Regions from separate parts of the Homo sapiens genome. Here all the other regions are linked to region 2. Evidence: promoter capture Hi-C in 16 types of primary human blood cells and fetal thymus (Javierre and others, 2016). All regions are on one chromosome and are shown on one strand. Each heading gives the region's core, a stretch centred on a gene start or on the middle of the fragment in contact. The rest is flanking DNA. Distances are from core to core; before and after follow the strand shown. Region 1 holds the start of PLCH1 (phospholipase C eta 1). Region 2 holds the start of DHX36 (DEAH-box helicase 36). Region 3 holds the start of C3orf33 (chromosome 3 open reading frame 33). Region 4 overlaps GMPS (guanine monophosphate synthase). Region 5 overlaps C3orf33 (chromosome 3 open reading frame 33). Region 6 overlaps SLC33A1 (solute carrier family 33 member 1). Region 7 holds the start of GMPS (guanine monophosphate synthase).

Region 1 (3,005 bases), core at 137-2,636, 1.4 Mb after region 2:
CTCCAACTCCAAACCCCTGCCAAGGGCCAGAAAAGCCCCCCTAGAAGAGCACTTCTCCCCACTAGCCAGCAGAAGCCCCAGACGAGCGGGGAAGAGCAGGGCGCCGCCGCCACAACCTGCTTTCTCATTCAAATCCTCACGCTCACACAGGAGCCCCCCTCCCTCTCGGCCCCGCAGCTTCCGAGGAAATCAGGAACTGGAGTTGCGGAGAGCGGACTGGAGCGCCTGCTGCCTCCTCTGGCCCGGGCGGGATGGGTGTACGGAACCCTAGGGCTGCACGTGGAACCCCAAGGCTGCACCTGGAACCCTTGGCTTACACTCTCCTGCGGGGCTCCCCGCTTGGCAAGGGCCAGAAGCACTGGGAATGAAGTACTTTTACTCCCCCGCAAGTTTCAAAAGTTTCGAAACCCAGGGTAACCCCTCGGGGCTGTAGCCAGAGGGCCTCGGTGGTGGGGGGTAAAGGAGTTGGAGAAACAAAGTTGGAAGTGAAGGGCGCAGGGAATGGGAACTGCGTGCAACTTGCACCAAAGTGAAAAGTGTTCTCAAACGTCCGTCTTACCTCCTTTAAAAAAAAAAAATTTCTAAGAATATAGCATCTGTCGATGCCGCAAATTAAAGAGATCTACTCTGAGTGAATGGGAACTGCGTGCAACTTGCACCAAAGTAAAAAGTGTTCTCAAACGCCCGTCTTACCTCCTTTAAAAAAAAAAAATTTCTAAGAATATAGCATCTGTCGATGCCGCAAATTAAAGAGATCTACTCTGAGTGAAGTGCAACTAAAATTGAGAGCGTGTAAATGGTAACACTTTGCTTTTATTTACCCCCAGTCTCTTCATTTGGAAATGCTACTCCTTGGCATTAACAGGCCACTTATTCACTTAGATCCGTTTAGTGGCTGGTTGACTCAAGCGGGCAACCTGCCGGGAGTAAGAAGGCGGCGGTGGCAGAGGAAAGCTTGCACGAAGCAGGCACTCAAGTGTTGATGAAACGATGAAATCTACTGAATGCACTGAAAGGATGAGTGACCAGCTTGGGGCGGATGCTGGAACCGCCGCTGGCCTAGACGGCCGCGGTGTGATCCGGCTTCTGGATTCCAGGATTTACATTTATCAGCCTTCATTCAACCTGCCCTATTGTTAGTTCAAAGCCTGGCTGGGAAGGAGTGGGGACGCAGCTCTTCACTCACCTTTCAGTTTAAAATAATCCTCCAATAAGAATGTCCTAGGAAAGCTGGCAGCATGGGGTTGGCAGGGATTTTCTGGGCTTAGTGACAACATAAACTAAAGTCATTTTCTTTTTTCATGCGTGAATTTGCCCAGGAAGTTACAAACGAGTAAGTTACAAATGAGTGCCTGAGATTGGAGCTCAGGGCCTTGGCTGCCTGTTCTCTTTGACAGACAGTGTGGAGGGTGGTAGCACTGTGACCTCTCAGCGCAAGATCTAGGGTTTCACCTTTTCATCCCACTTAGCCGATACCATAGAAACAACCCATTTGTATTATTCAATTCAACAGAGGCAATTACAATGTCACAGCAAAGCACCATGGGCAAGAAGAAACTTTGTCCTGAAAACAATCCTAGACTCTCAGAAAAAAGAAAAAAGCCACCAGAATACCCACTTGAATTTCTTCCTGCCAATAGTACCAGGAAGAAATCAATTTGGAAAAAATGTAGGTAAGGTCCTTTGCCTCTATAGAAAGAAACCTCCCCAAATTTACTTGTTTTTGTTTTTGTTTTTTTGCATGCCCATACACAAGCCTCAATTTATAAGAAATTAAGTCATTAACCCTCTGCCTCCAAACTGCTTTATATTTTGTAAACAAGCTTGTTGGAGATTTGTTTTGCTGGTAACCTCCATGGTGAATAGAAAAGCCAAAAAAAAAAAAAAAAAAAAAAAAACCACCAAGATAATCCCTCAACAGCAGCAGTTCACCCCCTAACCTCCGGTGTTTGTCTTTCTTGAGTCTGAAAAAATGCAGATGCACATGTTGAAATAAACTCAGACACAAAGTTCATAATAAGAGCACTTGTTTGCTATGCATTCTTTATTTTGATAGTTTTAATCAACTCCCATAATTTTGTAAACTTTTAAATTTTTAAATTGTGTGATATTTCAAACCTACCAAAAACAGGATATATACCATGTAATACTCCTGCTCCCCCCAGCCCTTCTTTTTTAAATAAAGCATTACAGATATAGCTAAACCCCAACTCCTGACTCGTTACCCCCACCCCTTCCCAAAGGTAATAATTCTGAAGTTGGTATGAATCATAATTATGCATGTTCTTAAATGTTTAGGACATTTATACATCCATAATCTTTTAATGTAGCTTTTCTCTCCAAGTCGTTTTAACATTATTTATCTGAGAAAAATCACTAAAACAATTAATTAATTAATTGGAGAAAATCACTAAAAACAAGAAAATGTGTTACATTGCTAAGTTTTTAGAAGCAGGACAGAACTATTTTTCCTGCTTGTGACAATCAGAGTATGGAATAATAACAAAGGGATTAGACAGTGGGTAATAAGCAGCCTCTCTAGGTTACACAAACTCTTCCATGGTTACCAAAGAATAAATAGAAAAACAAAACAAATAATACCCTCCTCTTTCACTGGTTAAAGGGGAACTGGAGAAAATGAGATCTTCATTAAAACTTCTTTGGGCAGGTAAGACAAACATCCTACATGGTAGTAAAGTACCTTTTCTAGAGGATCTCTTGGTCATGCAAGCTATGATCTTTTAGTAAGGATTTACCACTTTTCCAAGTATAAAGAACTCCTGCTGGTAGCTCAATACAAGGTTGAAATCCGCCTGGCTGAAAAGTCTGGGGTTGAATTAGCCCTGCCTCTTCAAGCACAGGGACATCCATCTGTACAGTAGTTACAAAAATCTTTTGCTGTGATTCTTTGACTTAATGTCCTCCCAGCATTAAAAGTGCTAAGAAAGCATCAATTTTTCTTAAATGCCATTGAATGGTGAAAGGCATCCTTCCCAACCCCCACC
Region 2 (3,002 bases), core at 422-2,921:
TCAAACAGAGCCTTAATAAATAAAAGTTGTAAAGTTACTTAGACGTCCGTATCCTGATTTTCAAGCCAGTATGCCCAACGAAAAAGTTAATTTGGGGCTGTAAAAGAAATGGATTTGTTTTTTAAAGAAAAGTTTAAATTATGAAGATAAATGGATAAGGCCCCCAAAACACCTGAATGAACATGACATGGTTAAAAGAAATAAAAAGAAATGGAACGGTTTAAAAATAGTAGTCTAGGCCTGGCGTGGTGGCTCACGCCTGTAATCCCAGCACTTTGGGAGGCCGAGTTGGGTGGATCACCTGAGGTCAGGAGTTCGAGACCAACCTGGCCAACATGGTGAAACCCCGTCTCTACTAAAAATACAAAAATTAGCCGGAGGTGGTGGCGGACGCCTGTAATCCCAGCTACTCGGGAGGCTGAAGCAGGAGAATCGCTTGAACTTGGGAGGCGGAGGTTGCAGTGAGCTAAGATCGTGCCACTGCACTCCAGCCTGGGCGACAGAGTGAGACCCTGTCTTAAAAAAAAAAAAAGTTGCCTAAATGATGATCTAATTACACTCTATAATACATTTTATAAGGTGCTTTTAAAAAGTCACCAAAGGCCTATACTAAGAAAGTTCCTGCTTAATGATAAAAATTATTTTTTATTAGAATTTTATTTACTAGTCACTCGGAGAACTTTGTTTCCCTTACTACAGATCTTTAAGACACAAATCAACCTGACAATCACCTGAAGAGAGGAGAGTAAGCCAAATCATCTCTGGAGATTCCTTTCATTTTCCTTTTCAAAGAGAATCTGCTCATCAATAGAAATTTCTCCACCCCAACATAAAAAACAAAAACCTAGGTTTGCAGATAATTTTAACACTAATAATAAAAGCTGGACTATTTTTCTGAATGATCCACATCCAAAACAGTGTCTGCCTGCTTTTGTTCCGCGCAAACCTATCTCAAATGTAGAAAGGTCGCTATGTGCTTCTTCACCAGGCAAAGACCTTAAAGTGACAATTATTATTCTAAGGGAAAGGACGGCCAGAGATACGACAACGACACTCCTAATAAAGTTAATTTCGGTTGGAACGTGAACTTAACATTTGCTTTGTCACAGTTCTCAAGTCCTTTAAGCAAAGTATATATTCAGCCTGCATAAATCCTGCCTGTTTTTGGTCAGATGAGCATGGCTAATGTTACGCAGTACACCCGCTACGGGGAGCGCCAGCATAATATATTTGCGCCTCATTTACATTTCACAAAACACGTGCATCACTTAAGAAACAAAACCAAGAAAAAGGGGGCAGCGGGAGAGAGAAGAAAACCTGTGCTGCCTCATCCTCTCCACTACTGAATCCGAGATTACCTCTTGCCTCTCCGCTTCCTTGTTCTTCTGCCCCTGTTTTTTCGCGTACCACATGCCGATTTCGCGGCCTTTCAGGTGCCCGGGATGCCGGCCCCTGCCGCCTCGACCACCCCCTCCGCCGCCGCCGCCTCCTCCGGAGCCTCGGTTACCTCCATGACCCCCTGCTGGCCCCCCTCCATAGCCCCCACCGGAGCTGCGGGGACCCCCATCACGGCCCCAGTTCTGATGGTAGTCATAACTCATTGTCCTGGCAGACTACAACCCGTCAGAACCAGCAACCGCTGGAAATGGCGTCCGGGCCCGGAAGCCACTGTGCGCCCACTTCCGTTTTGCTTCCGTAGCACCGCACAAGAGGGCGGGCCATTTAGCGTCACAAGCAGTGGTTTCTGGTGACGTCACGGGAGGACGACCCCGGTGGTCTGGAGGGTGGCAGGGATCAGGTTCTGTCTGAGCCCCCGAGTTGTTTATCTTTGTACCTCTGGAGCAACAGCCAGCCAAAGGCTCGTAGATTTTCTTTCCCTAGGCCCAGCAAGTGAGCCAATAGCTTTTGGTTTTTACTTTCTTATTCCTGGTAAATCCGCAGTTTTTTTGCACTTAGGTCCTAGGGTAGTAAACGTTGATTGAAACAAAAGAACCCTTGGATCAATTCGCCGTCTTCTAAAGAAAAGTCTCTAAAAAATGAGTTCTTCTAGTCTTGAAAACAGCCTGACAACTATTCAAATATGTAATTTAAAATCCCCTTACCTCCTTGAAAGTGTTGTCACTATTTAGTACGTTTATCCAATAGTGTTAAGATGAGCGTGTCTACCCAAATTCGGTGCAGAGCTCTTAGGCAATGTAAATAAACTACTTTGAAGATTCATGTGTTCATATGAAGCCACATACTGTTTATTAACCAGCACACTGAGTGTTTTGTACAAGCTGTTCTTGAATAATCAAGTAATTGGGCCACACAGGCTTGGATGTACACCAGGAGATATCCAGCTCATGTTACAGTTAACTGATGTAAAGGTGCTGGGAATACTCACTGAACAAAGCAAGTATGGCATGAGCTTTTATTTGCCTACAGTCTTAAGGGAAAGACAAAGGCTATCTTTGTGCAGTGAATTAAGAAAGGGAAATGCTGTATGCCAGGAAGGGGTCTACAATACACCATTGTGGCCTAAAAATTATTTTGAGCAAAGACATTTGAGTTTCTGAAATCTACCTGTCTAAATGCAGAACCACACGGAGGAATTCAAATCAAGCTCCTCCCTGGGAGGGAAACCCAGGAAGACTGACTCTTATCACTGGAGGTTAGAAGCTGGCAACACACTTGAATAGACATTGTCACAAAGCTATCATATCTGGCATCTGTTTTAAGGTGTCATTTATTTTTACTAAAAGTCATTTGTTTTTTCCATACGTGCTGTTTTCCCCTTTCCTTCCCTTTATAAGATGGTAGATAAGTCAGAACTCTACCTCCCTGAATCACCTTTTTCTGTGAACTCTATTATGTATGTGGTTAAGTCTGTCTTTTCTTTTGCTAATCTGTTTTGTCACTTTAAGTCTGGGGCCTGCAAACACTGAATCTAAGAAAGTAGACAAAAAGTATTTCCTCCCTAAGAGCCAAGAGATACTACAGCAAAAGAATTTAATTTTGGA
Region 3 (3,046 bases), core at 386-2,885, 1.5 Mb after region 2:
TCACTGTCTGCTTCTTCTTAGTCTTTGCTGACCTCCTCTTTACTCCCCAGATTCTCAATGTTATAATCCCCCAAATTCTAGGGCTTCTTCAGTAGCTTTTCTCACTTGCTCTGAGATGTTATTCAAGCCCACGGCTTTAAATGCTACTTAAGGTTTATGCAGGTCATTCCCAATGTTCTATGTCAGGTTCTGATCTCCCTTCAACACCGGACCCCATATCCAGTTGCCAAGGACAGCATCTACAATTCTGCTTAGAAGTCTAATAATGATCTCCAAATTTGCACATCTCCATGTACGTGTCCAAAAAGTTCTCTAGATTTTCCCCAATAAATCATTTATTCCAACTCCTTCTCCTTATCAGCAACTATTACCAGCCTCCTTGGACCTCTTTCTTTGTACCTCACACCCAAACAATTCATATCACCACAATTCTGTGTCTTAGCCACAACCCTCTCTTGCCTGGTGGCCTAACATGTCCCTCTCTTGCTTCAACTCCAGAGGCTTAGTGCTTCACTTAAAAAAAAAAAAAAAAAAAAAGGCAGGGCACCAGTGGCTGATGCCTACAATCCCAGTGCTTTGGGAGGCCGAGGCGGGCAGATCTCTTGAGACCAGGAGTTCAAGGCCAGCCTGGGCAACACAGGAAGACCTTGCCTCTACAAACAAAAAACAAATTAGCCTGGTGTGGTGACAAGTGCCTGTAGCCCTAGCTACTCGGGAGCCTGAGGTGGGAGGATTGCTTAAGCCCAGGAAGTGGAGACTGCAACGAGACATAATGGTGCCACTGCACTCCAGGCGTGACAGAGGGAGACCCTGTCTCAAAAAAAAGAAATCTATTCGGGAGGCTGAGGTGGGAGATCACTTGAGGCCAGGAGTTGGAGGACAGCCTGGACAACATAGCAAGACTCCCAGTCTCTAACTCTAAAAGAAAGTAGTCGATGGGGTAGCGCACGCAACCTGTGGTTCCAGCTACTCGGGAGGCTGAAGTGGGAGGATCTTTTCGGCCGAAGTGGGTGGAGCAGCAGCAGTGAGCTATGATCGTGCCACTGCACTCCAGCTTGGGCCAGAGAGGAATACCGTGTCCCTAAAAAATAAAATTAAAAATAAATAAAAATTAGAAATGCTCTCTCCCAAGGCGTACAGGACTTCCCTGCTCTTCCTCGGTCTCCTCTCTGGGCCCTCCCCAAATGCTCTAATGGACCAGGTGGCATCCCCGAGCTGGGCTGCGTCTCACCCTTTGAGGTGCCCCCTACAGCCCAGCAAGGATCCAGAACAGTCCTTGTAATAATGAGGCCGAACTGGCCCCCTGGCCCGCCCCCGGCCCTCTGCAGCCCCGCACACACGACACTCGCGATGTCGCCCTCTCGAGCTCATTCCCCCGCAGTTTTCTGTCGCTCCCCGGCCCCGGCGGGATCCACGCCTGAGGCCTCACGTTGTTCTCAGGGTCGCTCTGTGCCGCCCCGCGCCCACCACCCGCCCAGACTGCGTGGCCCCAGTACCCGGACTAGGCGCAGGTGGTCGTCTGCCCACTGCGAGATCCGAGCCACGACGTTGGGCTCCATTCCGTCCTTGTCGGCAGACGGCGAGCCGGTGGCCGCGGGCTGCCCCGCCATGTTCCCGGCCTCCTGCGAGCGGCCCTGAGCTCCTCCGGCTGGCGGCAGGGGGCGCCGCTCACCTCGGGAAGGCGGCGGGGTCCCCTTCCCCGCGGACCGGGGTGGCCCCGCGACCTGCAGTCGCCAGTGGGCGGGCCCCAGATATCAGACGTCTTAACAGTGCCCCAACCGCTTTTATGCAGGGTGATTCCACGATGCAGGAGATCTCTGAGCAGCACTGTGGGGGCTGAAGCATTCCCTATCAAGCTAGTAGGATGATTGTCAGCTGGTGACTTCAATTCACTCAGCTGCAACGTGGTTTTCGCAGGTGCCACACAAGGAAGGAAATTGAAGTAATTCATTCCTTCCACCTGCTCCCAAGGAACAGCATATGCATATTTTTTAACCAAATACGACCTGTCCTTGAAACCTATGCATATTTCTTATATTCAAATTGTGCTTTAAAGTTTTAAGAGCTGCTCTGAAAGCCTAATATCACATGCTCTAAATCTTTGAGCTGTTAGAAAACAGTAGTTAATACATTTTAAATAAAACAAAAATTAGATACAGAGCAGTGCAAATAATATGGTAACATTTATGTAATAAAAATATATATTGAGGCCGGGTGTGGTGGCTCCTGCCTGTAATACCAACACTTTGGGAGGCCGAGGCGGGCGGATTACTTGAGGTCAGGGGTTCGAGACCAGCCTGGCCCACATGGCGAAATTCCGTCTCTACTGAAAATACAAAAATTAGCTGAACCTGGTGGTATGCGCCTATAATCCCAGCTACTCAAGAGGCTGAGGCAGGAGAATCGCTTGAACCTGGGAAGCGGAGGTTGCAGTGAGCCAAGATCGTGCCACTACACTCCAGCCTGGGTAACAGAGCAAGACTCCATCTAAAAAAATAAATAAATACTAAATACTATACAAGAAACTAGTAACAGTGACTACCCCGGGAAACGGAAGGTAGGAAAGGGCAAGAGGTTTCACAATCTGCCACCTCTAATAAACATTTTTCAGTGATAGAAATGTCCTGTAGCTTCATGTGGGTATTGCCTGCATGAAATGTGGCTACTGAAATCAAGGAACTGAATTTTTAACTTTATTAATTTTAATTAATTTAGTCACATATGGCTAGTGGCTATTATATTGGAGAGTGCAATTATACTACTGGAGTTTTTTTTTTTTTTTTACTTTATGCAAATATTACCTTTAAAAGTCAAAACAGACTATGTTGTATTCCTAACAATACATATTATGAGTGGTGGCTTCAAGGAGTGTATTGTCTCTGTGTTATAGCCAATAGAAAGTAAATAACAGCCGGGCGTGGTGGCTTACGCCTGTAATCCCAGCACTTTGGGAGGCTGAGGAGGTTGAATCATGAGATCAGGAGATCGAGACCATCCTGGCTAACACAGTGAAACCCCATCTCTACTAAAAATACAAAAAATTAGC
Region 4 (2,814 bases), core at 306-2,805, 1.6 Mb after region 2:
AGCTGGGATTGCAGACATGTGCCACTACGCCCCACTAATTTTTGTGTTTTTAGTAGAGATGTGGTTTTGCCATTTTGGCCAGGCTGGTCTCACACTGCTGACCTCAAGTGATCCACCCAACTTGGCCTCCCAAAGTGCTGGTATTACAGGTGTGAGCCACCGTGCCGGCCCTAATCAGCATAATTTGTGATGTCATGGCCCTAGATCTAAATGCCAGGAGATTCTCACAGAAACAAAATTTAATGAGTGCCTGTATCTGAATTCTGTTACTCAGGATTTATTGATAGTTCTTTTTCTTTTCTTATTTTTTTTTTGGGGATGGAGTCTCTCTCTGTCACCCAGGCTGGAGTGCAGTGGCACAATCTCTGCTCACTGCAAGCTCCGCCTCCCGGGTTCACACCATTCTCCTGCCTCGGCTTCCCAAGTAGCTGGGACTACAGGCACCCGTCACCACACCCAGCTAATTTTTTGTATTTTTAGTAGTGATGGGATTTCACCATGTTAGCCAGGATGGTCTTGATCTCCTGACCTCGTGATCCACCTGTCTCGGCCTCCCAAAGTGCTGGGATTATAGGCATGAGCCACCGGGCCCGGCCAATAATTCTTGAATATTGATAGTTTATTGAAATTTGTAGGCAGATTTAGGGGAGATCAAAGGACTGCTCTTCAGACTGGGAAAGAAATAGCTTTTCTTTCTGTATTTTGACTTGTTATTTTTGATTAAAAAACATGTTATACCAATTTAAAACGCTTCTCCCCTTTCCTCCAGTGATAAATGCTGCTCATTCTTTCTACAATGGAACAACAACCCTACCAATATCAGATGAAGATAGAACCCCACGGAAAAGAATTAGCAAAACGTTAAATATGACCACAAGTCCTGAAGAGAAAAGAAAAATCATTGGGGATACTTTTGTTAAGGTACCTTTGTTTTTAATATCCTCAACATGTACTATTTTTGATGTGAATCTTAGTATTTGTTTTTCCTTGTCACTATATCAAATAACCAAATTAGCTAATTTTAATCCTTTTTCTTATGTGGCTGAGAGTTTTATTGTATATTGTCATTATATTGACCAGTAGAAACTGTTTTATGTTTTTTTGTTGTTGTTTGGTTTTTTTTTTGTTTTTTTGAGACAGAGTCTTGCTGTGTCACCAGGCTGGGCTGGAGTGCAGTTGCACGATCTCGGCTCGCTGCAACCTCTGCCTTCTGGGTTCAAGTGATTCTCCTGCCTCAGCCTCCTAAGTAGCTGGGACTACAGGGGTGCACCATCATGCCCAGCTAATTTTTGTACTTTTAGTAGAGACGGGGGTTTCACCATGTTGGCCAGGTTGGTCCGGATCTCCTGACCTCATGATCCGCCCGCCTCAGCCTCCCGAACTTCTGGGATTACAGGTGTGAGCCACTATGCCCAGCCAACTGTTTTATGTTTTAATAAACATGTTTGCCTACATTGCCAGGCTATTATTTTAAGAATAGATGTCTTTAAGAGTAGATGTATTCAGCTTATCATAGACTTTAATTCATTGATTATCTCAATGGCTAATTTCAAGCTCTTGAATGGAATGTTCACATACCTTTGTTTTTGTTTTTTTTTTTTTTTGGAGGCGGAGTTTTGTTCTTGTCACTCAGGCTGGAGTACAATGGAGCGATCTTGGCTCACGGCAACTTTCACCTGCTGGGTTCAAGCGATTCTCCTGCCTCAGCCTCCCGAGTAGCTGGGATTACAGGCATGCACCACCATGCCCAGCTAATTTTTTTCTTTTTTTGAGATGGAGTCTCACTCTGCCGCCCAGGCTGGAGTGTAGTGGTGCAATCTTGGCTCACTGCAAACTTTGCCTCCAGGGTTCAAGCGATTCTCCTGCCTCAACTTCCTGAGTAGCTGGGATTACAGGCGTGTGCCACCATGCCCGGCTAGTTTTTGTATTTTTAGTAGAGACGGGGTTTCACCATGTTAGTCAGGCTGGTCTCAAACTCCTGACCTTGTGATCTGCCTGCCTTGCCTCCCAAAGTGCTGGGATTACAGGCGTGAGCCACCACACCTGGCCACTAATTTTGTATATTTAGTAGAGATGGTGTTTCATCATGTTGGCCAGGCTGGTCTCGAACTCCTGGCCTCAAGTGATCCACCCCACTCAGCCTCCCAAAGTGCTGGGATTACAGGCGTGAGCCACTGTGTTTGGCCTCATGTACCTTTTTGAATCGTGTTAGAGGACATGTTCATTAAGGAGTTTATTTTGGAGATTGGTGGATTTTATTTTCTGATCAGTATTTCTAAAGGACTCTAAGAGATTTAGCTGAAAGTATAAACTTTTGCTTTTAAAAAAAGTTATCTCTTACAAGGCTGTTTTACTCCTGTTGATTATAGATTGCCAATGAAGTAATTGGAGAAATGAACTTGAAACCAGAGGAGGTTTTCCTTGCCCAAGGTACTTTACGGCCTGATCTAATTGAAAGTGCATCCCTTGTTGCAAGTGGCAAAGCTGAACTCATCAAAACCCATCACAATGACACAGAGCTCATCAGAAAGTTGAGAGAGGAGGTAAAAGTTTATGAAAACTTTTTCATAAAGTAGATACATGGAAAGTCTTCCATTCTTCCCTCCTCTTCCCTCTAATATTCACAGAATTGCATAACCATCACCACATCTAATTTTAGAACATTTTCCTTACCCTAAAAAGGAACCTTATACCCATTAGCAGTCACTCCTCGTTCTACCTGTTGTTGTCATTGTCATCCTGCCCCCACCCCCCAGCTCCTCCTTTCCTCCTTTCTTGCCAGCCCTAGGCAATTACCAACCACTAATTTATTTT
Region 5 (3,034 bases), core at 156-2,655, 1.5 Mb after region 2:
GAATACCAAAATAAAAAGGAAAAACTCCTTGCCCATCAGGGGCTCACAGTTCAGTAAGGAATATAAACCTAAATACATAATAGCAGAAAAAGGTGAATAAGTACTATAATTGCAGTGTATTATAAATTGTTGTGGGGTATAGCAAAGAAAGAGGCTAATGCAGCTTGGCAGTTAAGGAGGCTTCACAGAAGAGCTGACAGTTGAGCCAGATTCTGAAGAATCAATTGATGTTCAACAGAGGCCAAGATACTCCAAGCAAAGAACCAGGCCCAGGGTTATGAGAATGCATATAAGCAGCAGGAAGGTCTGTGTGTCTGGGTGCTTTGATGTGAAGCAAGGAGAAATGGGAATTGCAGCAGGAAAGTGGCATCTTACACCAAACCTGTCCAGTCTGCAGCCTGTGGGCCACATGCAGCCCAGGATGGCTTTGAATATGTCCCAACACAAATTTGTAAACTTTCTTAAAACGTTATGATATTGTTTTGCTTTTTTTTTTTTTTTTTTTTTAGCTCATCAGCTATCATTAGTGTATTTAATGTGTGGCCCAAGAAAATTTTTCTTCTTCCAATGTGGCCCAGGGAAGCCAAAAGATTGGATACCCCTGTCTTACACCCTTCCTCCCTGTGCCTCAATCACAGGAGTCTTGGTATGTCTTGTCAAAAGCATCATGCTCTTTCTCACCTATCCTCTTTCTAGCTAGCCTCCTCTTAATTCTTCAGGTCCCTGATTAAATAACAACTCCTCAATGAGGCCTTCTCTGACTACTCTATATGTATAGATTCCATACTGCCATCCCCAAGACCACCCAGAATTATCCTAGTATCCTGCTCCTTTTCTTCATAGCTCTTAGGACAACTTTTCATTTGTTTGTTGTCTATCTCGCACCTAGACTATAAGCTTCAAGGGTTAAAAGAGCTTTGTTTTACCCAACATTGTACAATTAGCTTAGGTTCTAGACCATAATAGGTGCTCAACATTTGTGAAATGAATGAATGATTGAATAGTTCAATTTAAAAAGCAGTGAAGGGGCAGGGTGTGGTGGCTCAGGCCTGTAATCCCAGCACTTTTGGAGGCCGAGGTGGGCGGATCACCTGAAGTCAGAAGTCCAAGACCAGCCTGACCAACATGGAGAAACCCCATCTCTACTAAAAATACAAAATTAGCTGGGCGTGGTGGTGCATGACTGTAATCCTAGCTACTCAGGAGGCTGAGGCAGGAGAATTGCTTGAACCTGGGAGGCGGAGGTTGCAGTGAGCCGAAATTGCACCATTGCACTCCAGCCTGGCAACAAAAGTGAAACTCTGTCTCAAAAAAAAAAAAAAGGAACGAAAGAAGAAAGGAAATCTGAGCCAAATTAAGCACCTCCCACCTCCTTATATATAAAGCCAAGAATTGAGACTTTCTCATGGACAATGGAGAGTTATTAGGAATTAAAATGACTTTTTTTTGCTATTTTATAAATAACTTCTAATAAAAGAAGACCACAATAGTTAGTTTCATTAATCTTGTACCTTACTTACTTCTCAATGAAGCTATAATAGGTAAAGTAATAGGTATATGTTCAATTTCTAAACCATTCTCAGTTATTCGGCGTAATCGTCCACGTAGTTTAACATTTCTTCTTATAAATTCTACTGGAATATCCGAAGAGCTTGTAAATTTTGATGTCTATTGATTTACAGGGAGAAAAATATAACCACTTATTATTATTGTCATCTCAAAATTTAAAATGTCAAATTATCAAAACATTTCACAAGAGTACATAACCATGAACATTTTAAAATTTAGTTCCTAATTTTATATTACTTTAATATGATTTAATCAAAAGTGTTTATGGAAACATTATTTACAAATCATTATTCACCATTTTCAAGCCAACCACATAAAGACATTAAACAGACTCCTAACTTCTAAAAGCTTATAACCTCAAAATATGACACAATTCATCAAAAGACATTGAGTATCTATCTATGCCTGGCACCACACAAATCTGGTTAAACAGTCTCTAGCTTGTTCCACATAAGTACAATCTATTCATGCATATACTGACGGGAAAACTTAAACAAAGCTCAGTCAAATTAAGTTAGAACCTTAACCAACCAGGTTTTTTTACTATCATTTTTTTATCTTGTAGGAGAAAAGGCACATTTAAAAAAGAAAAACGAAAAAAAGGCCAACATTAGGACTGTACTACAATCCCTAACACTTAGGTGATATCCTGGAATCAATCAACACTTTATGCCTATTTTTTCCACGTTAACAATACCATAAGCTTTGTTCATAATTATGGCTAGTTAAGAGGCTCACATAACAGAAGGAAAAGCCAGGCACGATGGCTTATGCCTATAATCCCAGCACTTTGGGAGGCTTAGGTTGGAGGGTTACTTGAGGCCAGAAGTTTGAGACCAGCCTGGGCAACAATAGCAAGATACCATCTCCACAAAAAAATGTAAAAATCAGCTGGGCATGGTAACACAGAACAGGAGGGTCACTTGAGCCCAGGAGTTTAAGGTTACAGTGAGCCATAATAGCACCACTACACTCCAGCCTGGGTGACAGAGCGAGAACCTGACTCTGTCAAAAAAAAAAAAAAAAAAAAAAAAAGAATAAATTAGTACCCAACTTCCTATGACAGTAAGGTTGAACTGAAGATTTTTATAACCAAGAATAGTGTAGGAGACAAACCCAGAATGTGGAATATACTATAGAATAAATCACTTGGTTTTCCCAACAAATCAATGGCATTGGAAAAAAAGGGTGGCAAGATACTATAAAATAAATGAGATTTAAGAAATAAATAAAATATATAGACTATTTGAATAGATCATCTATTTTTAAAAATCATAGTGACAATTGGCCGGGCATGGTGGCTCATGCCTGTAATCCTAGCACTTTTGGAGGCCGAGGCGGGAGGATCACCTGAGGTCAGGAGTTCGAGACCAGCCTCAACATGGAGAAACCTCATCTCTACTAAAAATACAAAATTAGTCGGGCGTGGTGGTGCATGCCTGTAATCCCAGCTACTTGGGAGGCT
Region 6 (2,868 bases), core at 361-2,860, 1.5 Mb after region 2:
GATCATAGCTCACTGAAGCCACAATCTCCCGGGCTGAAGCAATCCTCCTGCCTCAGCCTCCTGAGTAGCTAGGGTTACAGGCCTTCGCAAAACACCCAGCTATTTTTTTTTTTTTTTTAATTTTTAGTAGAGATGAGGTCTTGCTGTATTGCCCAAGCTGGCTCTACCTCCTCAGCTCAAGCAGTCCTCCCACCTCAGACTCCCAAAGTGCTGGGATAACAGGTGTGAGCCACTGTGCCCAGTCGTGACTTATTTTTTATTTTATTTATTTATTTATTTTTGAGACAGAGTCTCAAAAATGGGGTTTCGCCATGCTGGCCAGGCTGGTCTCAAACTCCTGACCTCAAGTGATCCTCCCACCTCAGCCTCCCAAAGTGCTGGGATTACAGGTGTGAGCCACTGTGCCCGGCCAGCAGTGAATTATTCATAAAGCAGGAGTGGAACCCCAGAACACTGAGACAAATCTACCTGGGTGCAAAGCAATTATCTCTCAACCAAACAACTGAGGAAAAAGTACTATCACCATCATTTCACCAGTAATAGTGGCTCACTCATTAGCAGTTTGAGGAGGTGTACATAAGGTTAGATGTCTGTGAGAATAAGATTGCAGGAAAATAGTGTAGTTGTGACACCTCCTACCACCACCACATACCTGGACATTTACTCTACTGTGAATTTCCAAGGTAGCACAGAAGCTGAGAAGTTCAGTTGCTTAAATTTCAAAACAGAATCCCCTAAATTCATCATCACTGACAGAATGAAGAATTTCACTATATTCCTGACATTGTTATTCCTGATATTGGTCATTTTACTTGTTTTCTAGTTGTTACAAAAGTTAAAAACAAACAAACAAACAAAAAAGCTTAGGCCAGGTGGGGTGGTTCACACTTATAATTCCCAGTACTTTGGGAGGCCAAGGAGGGGGAGAATCACCTGAGGCCAGGAGTTCAAGACCAGCCTGGCCAACATAGTGAGACAGCCCCCCCGACCCCCAACTATCTCAATTAAAAAAAAGAAGAAAAAAGAAAAAAGAGAAAAACTTACATGTGTTTTACTCATGCAGAGAAACAGGGAAATTTTTTAGAACTTACCCTCCATTACTTACAGGACAAACTTTAAACTCTTTTCCCATAGTAATTAAAGAAAATCTTACTAATTTAGTCACAGCCTTTCTCAGCACGATTTCCCAAACCCAGTTCCACAATTTAGGCAATGTCCTGTACTTTTTTGTACTTTCCTGCCTCAGTGCACTTTTACTTTGTGTTGTGCATTCTGGTGTGCCATTTCCTGGCCTCGTGGAATCTTATTCAAGAACAAAGTCAAATGTTATCTGCAATGTGAAGCCTGACTCCCAAAGGCAGTTACTAACTGGCAACTCTGAACTCTCCTAAAATGTTCATCTTCCTTATTTCTTGAGTGCAGAACTCTGCCTTATTCATTAGAGGCCTTAGAATCCCGTCCCTTAGCTGGTTCAATAATGTTTGAACGAATAAACCCTGTTCCATTCACTAGAAGGCTGGATTCTGGGTACAACGGTAGGGGTAGAAATGGATTAGAAAGTATAGAGCTAGAAACCTAAAACCAACAAGACAAAAGGAAAAATGTGAACCATATGAGCCACACTTTTTAAAAGTGTGCATTTGTGTATTAAGCAAGTGGCATGAATCCCTGGACTCGGTTGTGTTATTTGATGGGTTGCCTCTCCCTGTTAACCGCATAGTGATCATTTGATTGCTCTAATATCATTCATTTTGGCTTTAATATTTCAAAGAAGCTCATTTGGACGAAACAGAAAACTTACCTTGAGTTATCTCCCATACAATGATTTCCAGTAAATTAATGAGCTTCCCTCCAACGTCACACACTCTTTCAAAAGGATAAATAAACCTAACACCATAATAGCTTAAATACACTACCTGAAAGAGTAACGATTCCTCTGGGTTGAGGCTGAAACCGCAAATATTTGTTACAAAAGTCGGCAGATTCAAGGGCCAAAAACAAAACATTGCCCAAAAAGTAACCCGCTGTTTGGCCCACCGAATTGCAAGTAGAAGCATAACCCACATTTTCCCTGGATAACATAGTTAACGCCCAACCATCGACGGCAATGTCCTGAGTGGCGGCCAAGAATTCAAACAAAAAGAACGCCACAGTGAGAGCAATCACGTCGGGTGTTCTGTCATCGGTATTCCCAAGCAAACGGTCCACCTGAGTGGATAAATAGATCATGAAGAGTCCTAGTATATACTGTGTCGGGACAAGCCAAGATTTGCGACGACCGAAGTTCTTAACGTAGACCGCATCAACCAACGGGGCCCAGAGTAATTTGAGACTGAAGGGCCAAAAGACAAAACTGAAGAAAGCTTGGTCTGTATAGCTAACATTTTTGCTTTGCAAAATGAGTGGGATGCTTCCCGCCAAGCCCAGGGGAATACCCTGAAGCACGTAAAGAAAGAGTAGTAGCAAAATGCTGCTTAGTTCGGCCCGGAAGCTCTGTGGGGCTTTTAAGAAGTCGCCAGTGCCGGTATCCCCCAGAAGAGCTTCTCTGTCCCCTTCCCGGCCCGCTGAGTCCAAATGACTGTCATCCCAACCGCCTGGCGGCAGGGGACCGCTCTTCATATCCAGAGAGTGACTGAAATTCCCTGGCCGCCGTTGCCGGCTGCTGTCCTTGTGGGAGATGGTGGGTGACATATCAGAGACGATGCAGAGCCCCGTCTGTGGGGGGCCGAGGCTGAGCGTTTTGGATCCGTCCAGTCCCAGGTCCAAGGCTGTCGCGCTGGACCAGGGTTTCGGTGGTTCACGGGATGGTGGCAGGGCTCAGAGCGATAAGGGCACTTCTTACTGCAGCCCGGAGTGCTGAAGCCGGGA
Region 7 (2,780 bases), core at 269-2,768, 1.5 Mb after region 2:
TTTGTATTTTTAGTAGAGACAGGTTTCATGATGTTGGCCAGCCTGTTCTGGAACTCTGACCTCAGGTAATCCACCCGCCTAGGCCTCCCAAAGTGCTGGGATTACAGGTGTGAGCCACCACGCCCAGCCTAGAATATATTTAAACTAAGCATTGTTTAAGATAGATGGGACTTAGCCAATCCTTAATGCCAGTATATCACATCACATTCCACTCCATTAGGGGTGGATGTTTATGTAAGTTGAGGTTCTCCTATTGGTTACTGCACTCTTCTTTAGATTGTGCATACAGACCTACCCAGAGAAGCCAGTATCCATGGCTTTGGAGAGTTCAAATATTCAATTTTCCGTTCAAAAAAAGGTAAGCGAAATACTTAAGTCTCAGGCCCACTAGGACCTTAAGCCTTTCGTTTTTGTAAATATTTCACTAATAAACTGTCTACACTTTCCCAGATTGGGCAGGCCTTACATTCTATATATACTGAGAGGCACATTATCTCACTAAGCCTCAATTTCCTCATTTGTAAAAAGGATAAGAACATCAATCCTACCTTACTACTTTCACGGGATTGGTTAAAGTTAGCTTTTAAAGTATTTTCTCACTCTGGCTCCTTAATACCCTAGCTACAGTCTGACACAAGAATGACTGCAGCAAAATGTTGGCTGTATTATAATAAAAATATTTGTGGAAAGGCTTTGTTAGCTGGAAGCCATCTCAAGTATTATTCTTTATACCCCAATCTCGATTTAGGCCTCTAGGTAACCAAATTCAAAGTAACACCTCATCATCATGATGGTTGCCAAGGGGTAGGTGGAGGGACTGCAGCCCCTTCCCCACAAACAATTCCAATAAAAACACTGTTGTGCAAACAGAGCTTCACGACCAGTTCCCTGGGCCAGCTGCTCACCAGATTACCACTCCCAAACTCCCTTTTCTTTGGAAATACTGCACCTGCTGTATTTGTGGGGAGCTGTATAACTTTTGAAGTATCTAAGTGATCAGTTCCTACAATGACATCCTTGAGATATGGCCACGGAACTTTCCAAAGCAGCCTTGGCCTCCTTCATGTCCAGCAACCTGAGATAAGGCCACGCCACCGGCTAAGAGTTCCGCCAGGGGCCCAGCTCTCAGGAGGCCTCTTCGGTGCCGCCAGCCTCCCGAAGTCATCCAAGGTAGCAGGCAAATCCGGCAGCAGCAAACTAGCTCGGATTCGGCTTCGGTTTTTCTCCTGGCCGGCGCCACAGGCCCCTCCTCCGGGGCGGGCTCCTCGGTGCGAGGGCAGGAGGGGCGGAGCCGGTGGATGCCGCGGGCTCCTCCTCCCAAGGGCGGGCCGCGGGAGACCCGGCCGGCTTTGCCGGCGGGGACCGGGCTGGGGGCGGGGCCGGGCGCCGCGAGCCCCTCCTCTCGAGGGCCGGCCGGTTTGGCGGCGGCTGCGGAGGGTATCTGAGGCTCGGCTGCCAAGCCGAACGGGCTCTGGCTCCTCCCAGTGGCCGGCCGGGGCGGAAGCAGGAGGCGGGGGCAGCGTGCGCGCTGCTGGTCTTCTCTCCCGCGGCGCTGGGGCCCGCGCTCCGCTGCTGTTGCTCCATTCGGCGCTTTTCTGGCGGCTGGCTCCTCTCCGCTGCCGGCTGCTCCTCGACCAGGCCTCCTTCTCAACCTCAGCCCGCGGCGCCGACCCTTCCGGCACCCTCCCGCCCCGTCTCGTACTGTCGCCGTCACCGCCGCGGCTCCGGCCCTGGCCCCGATGGCTCTGTGCAACGGAGACTCCAAGGTCAGCGTGGGGGTCCCTGCAGCACCGCATCCCGGCGGAGGCGAGGCTCCCGGACCGGGGAGCCACCCCGCGAGGCCCTTCCCCACCCCCTTCCCCCAGCCCGTCCGCGCAGCCCTGCGCCCCGGGCAGCCACGCGTCGTAGAGTCCCTGGTCGGGGCCTGTGGCATGTTTTATCTCGGGAGCGGCGATGCTTTGTTGATCTTGTCTGCGTGTCGAGGTCCGGGCGTCGGGGAGGGCATCAGCTCCCCGCGGCCGCGTCGCTGGCCCCCGCCTCCCCCGCGCCGCTGTGGGGCGCAGAGCCCGCGAGCGCGGCGCGAGGGTGGGGGTAGGGCGGCGAGCGGGCTTGTGTGTCTGCGTGTCGGGGTGGGGGCTTCCTCGGCTCCCACCCCGTCCCTCTGGGAGGCTGGGGGCCCGTTGTGGCGATCCCGGGGCCCGCCGAAGGCAGGGCAGGGTCGGGGCCTCCTGTGCGGCGTTGGAGCTGGGCCGGCCTCTGGTCTTCCCGCCACCCCGTTTCCCGCCTGCCCTCGGCGAGGCCCGCTCCATTCCCCCCGCCAGCCTTGGGCTCCGCGGCGGTTAGGCCGGTTCTGGACGAACCCCTCGGAGCTGCACTGTCTTCCCCCTCCCCCAACGCCCCTGCAGGCCCGCGTGAGGGCTGGTGGCCCCAGGGTCGCGCACTCCGTTCTCCCTCCCCGCTTCCTTCTCAGAGAGGAAAGGGTGTGTGTCCAGGTCCCGCCCCCGTCCAGCTTGCTCCCTGTCGAGCTTGCTGGTTTGCGGGGTAACCCGCTTCCCCGCCTTTGGGGTCCCTCCCCGGGACGCGAGCCGTGCCAGCTCGCCCGAGGCCTGGGCAGTCCGGAGTTCCGGAGTGCTGGAAAAGTTGCCGCCTTGACGTACCCGGCGGGGAGAGCACGTTTGACCGCTGCTGCTCATCTCTCCTCCAACTCACTTTTCTTAGACCGTTCCTCTTACTTTCGTCCCGCTTTTGAATTGGGCACCTTCGCTTTCACCTCTGTATTA

Evidence for each region. The method cuts DNA at HindIII sites, captures the fragments that hold promoters and counts their contacts. A CHiCAGO score of 5 or more calls a contact.
Region 1: a contact is called between a fragment that was not itself captured here and the fragment with the promoter of DHX36 in region 2, in 4 of 17 cell types (non-activated CD4 T cells, monocytes, activated CD4 T cells and 1 more). The highest score is 7.7, in non-activated CD4 T cells.
Region 3: a contact is called between the fragment with the promoter of C3orf33 here and the fragment with the promoter of DHX36 in region 2, in 2 of 17 cell types (naive CD8 T cells and non-activated CD4 T cells). The highest score is 8.6, in naive CD8 T cells.
Region 4: a contact is called between a fragment that was not itself captured here and the fragment with the promoter of DHX36 in region 2, in 1 of 17 cell types (naive CD8 T cells). The highest score is 6.3, in naive CD8 T cells.
Region 5: a fragment that was not itself captured here is called in contact with the fragment with the promoter of DHX36 in region 2 in 1 of 17 cell types (naive CD8 T cells); the score reaches 5.4 in naive CD8 T cells.
Region 6: a contact is called between a fragment that was not itself captured here and the fragment with the promoter of DHX36 in region 2, in 7 of 17 cell types (activated CD4 T cells, naive CD4 T cells, non-activated CD4 T cells and 4 more). The highest score is 13.2, in activated CD4 T cells.
Region 7: a contact is called between the fragment with the promoter of GMPS here and the fragment with the promoter of DHX36 in region 2, in 1 of 17 cell types (neutrophils). The highest score is 5.3, in neutrophils.

The regions. Positions count from the first base shown.
Region 1 is chr3:155,744,942-155,747,946 of GRCh38, forward strand. It overlaps PLCH1 (phospholipase C eta 1), which reads right to left and starts at 130. Exons shown (of 23, transcript NM_014996.4): 1 at 1-130. RefSeq lists an enhancer at 1-92. The HindIII fragment of the contact is 869 bases long and covers 953-1,821 here.
Region 2 is chr3:154,322,816-154,325,817 of GRCh38, forward strand. It overlaps DHX36 (DEAH-box helicase 36), which reads right to left and starts at 1,672. Exons shown (of 25, transcript NM_020865.3): 1 at 1,359-1,672. The coding sequence starts at 1,601. RefSeq lists an enhancer at 1,565-1,859. The HindIII fragment of the contact is 15,842 bases long and covers 1-3,002 here.
Region 3 is chr3:155,804,643-155,807,688 of GRCh38, forward strand. It overlaps C3orf33 (chromosome 3 open reading frame 33), which reads right to left and starts at 1,636. Exons shown (of 5, transcript NM_001308229.2): 1 at 1,497-1,636. The coding sequence starts at 1,610. RefSeq lists a silencer at 1,571-1,920. The HindIII fragment of the contact is 11,000 bases long and covers 1-3,046 here.
Region 4 is chr3:155,913,650-155,916,463 of GRCh38, forward strand. GMPS (guanine monophosphate synthase) reads left to right here. Exons shown (of 16, transcript NM_003875.3): 8 at 770-921; 9 at 2,370-2,543. Among named protein-coding and RNA genes, the nearest start is that of GMPS, 44 kb to the left of the region's middle. The HindIII fragment of the contact is 3,503 bases long and covers 1-2,814 here.
Region 5 is chr3:155,774,181-155,777,214 of GRCh38, forward strand. C3orf33 (chromosome 3 open reading frame 33) reads right to left here. Exons shown (of 5, transcript NM_001308229.2): 3 at 1,521-1,668. Among named protein-coding and RNA genes, the nearest start is that of C3orf33, 31 kb to the right of the region's middle. The HindIII fragment of the contact is 1,020 bases long and covers 896-1,915 here.
Region 6 is chr3:155,851,307-155,854,174 of GRCh38, forward strand. SLC33A1 (solute carrier family 33 member 1) reads right to left here. Exons shown (of 6, transcript NM_004733.4): 1 at 1,917-2,868. The coding sequence starts at 2,691. Among named protein-coding and RNA genes, the nearest start is that of SLC33A1, 1.7 kb to the right of the region's middle. RefSeq lists an enhancer at 2,709-2,778. The HindIII fragment of the contact is 1,501 bases long and covers 861-2,361 here.
Region 7 is chr3:155,869,132-155,871,911 of GRCh38, forward strand. GMPS (guanine monophosphate synthase) reads left to right here and starts at 1,519. Exons shown (of 16, transcript NM_003875.3): 1 at 1,519-1,766. The coding sequence starts at 1,740. RefSeq lists enhancers at 964-1,013, 1,553-2,312 and a silencer at 1,154-2,373. The HindIII fragment of the contact is 27,854 bases long and covers 1-2,780 here.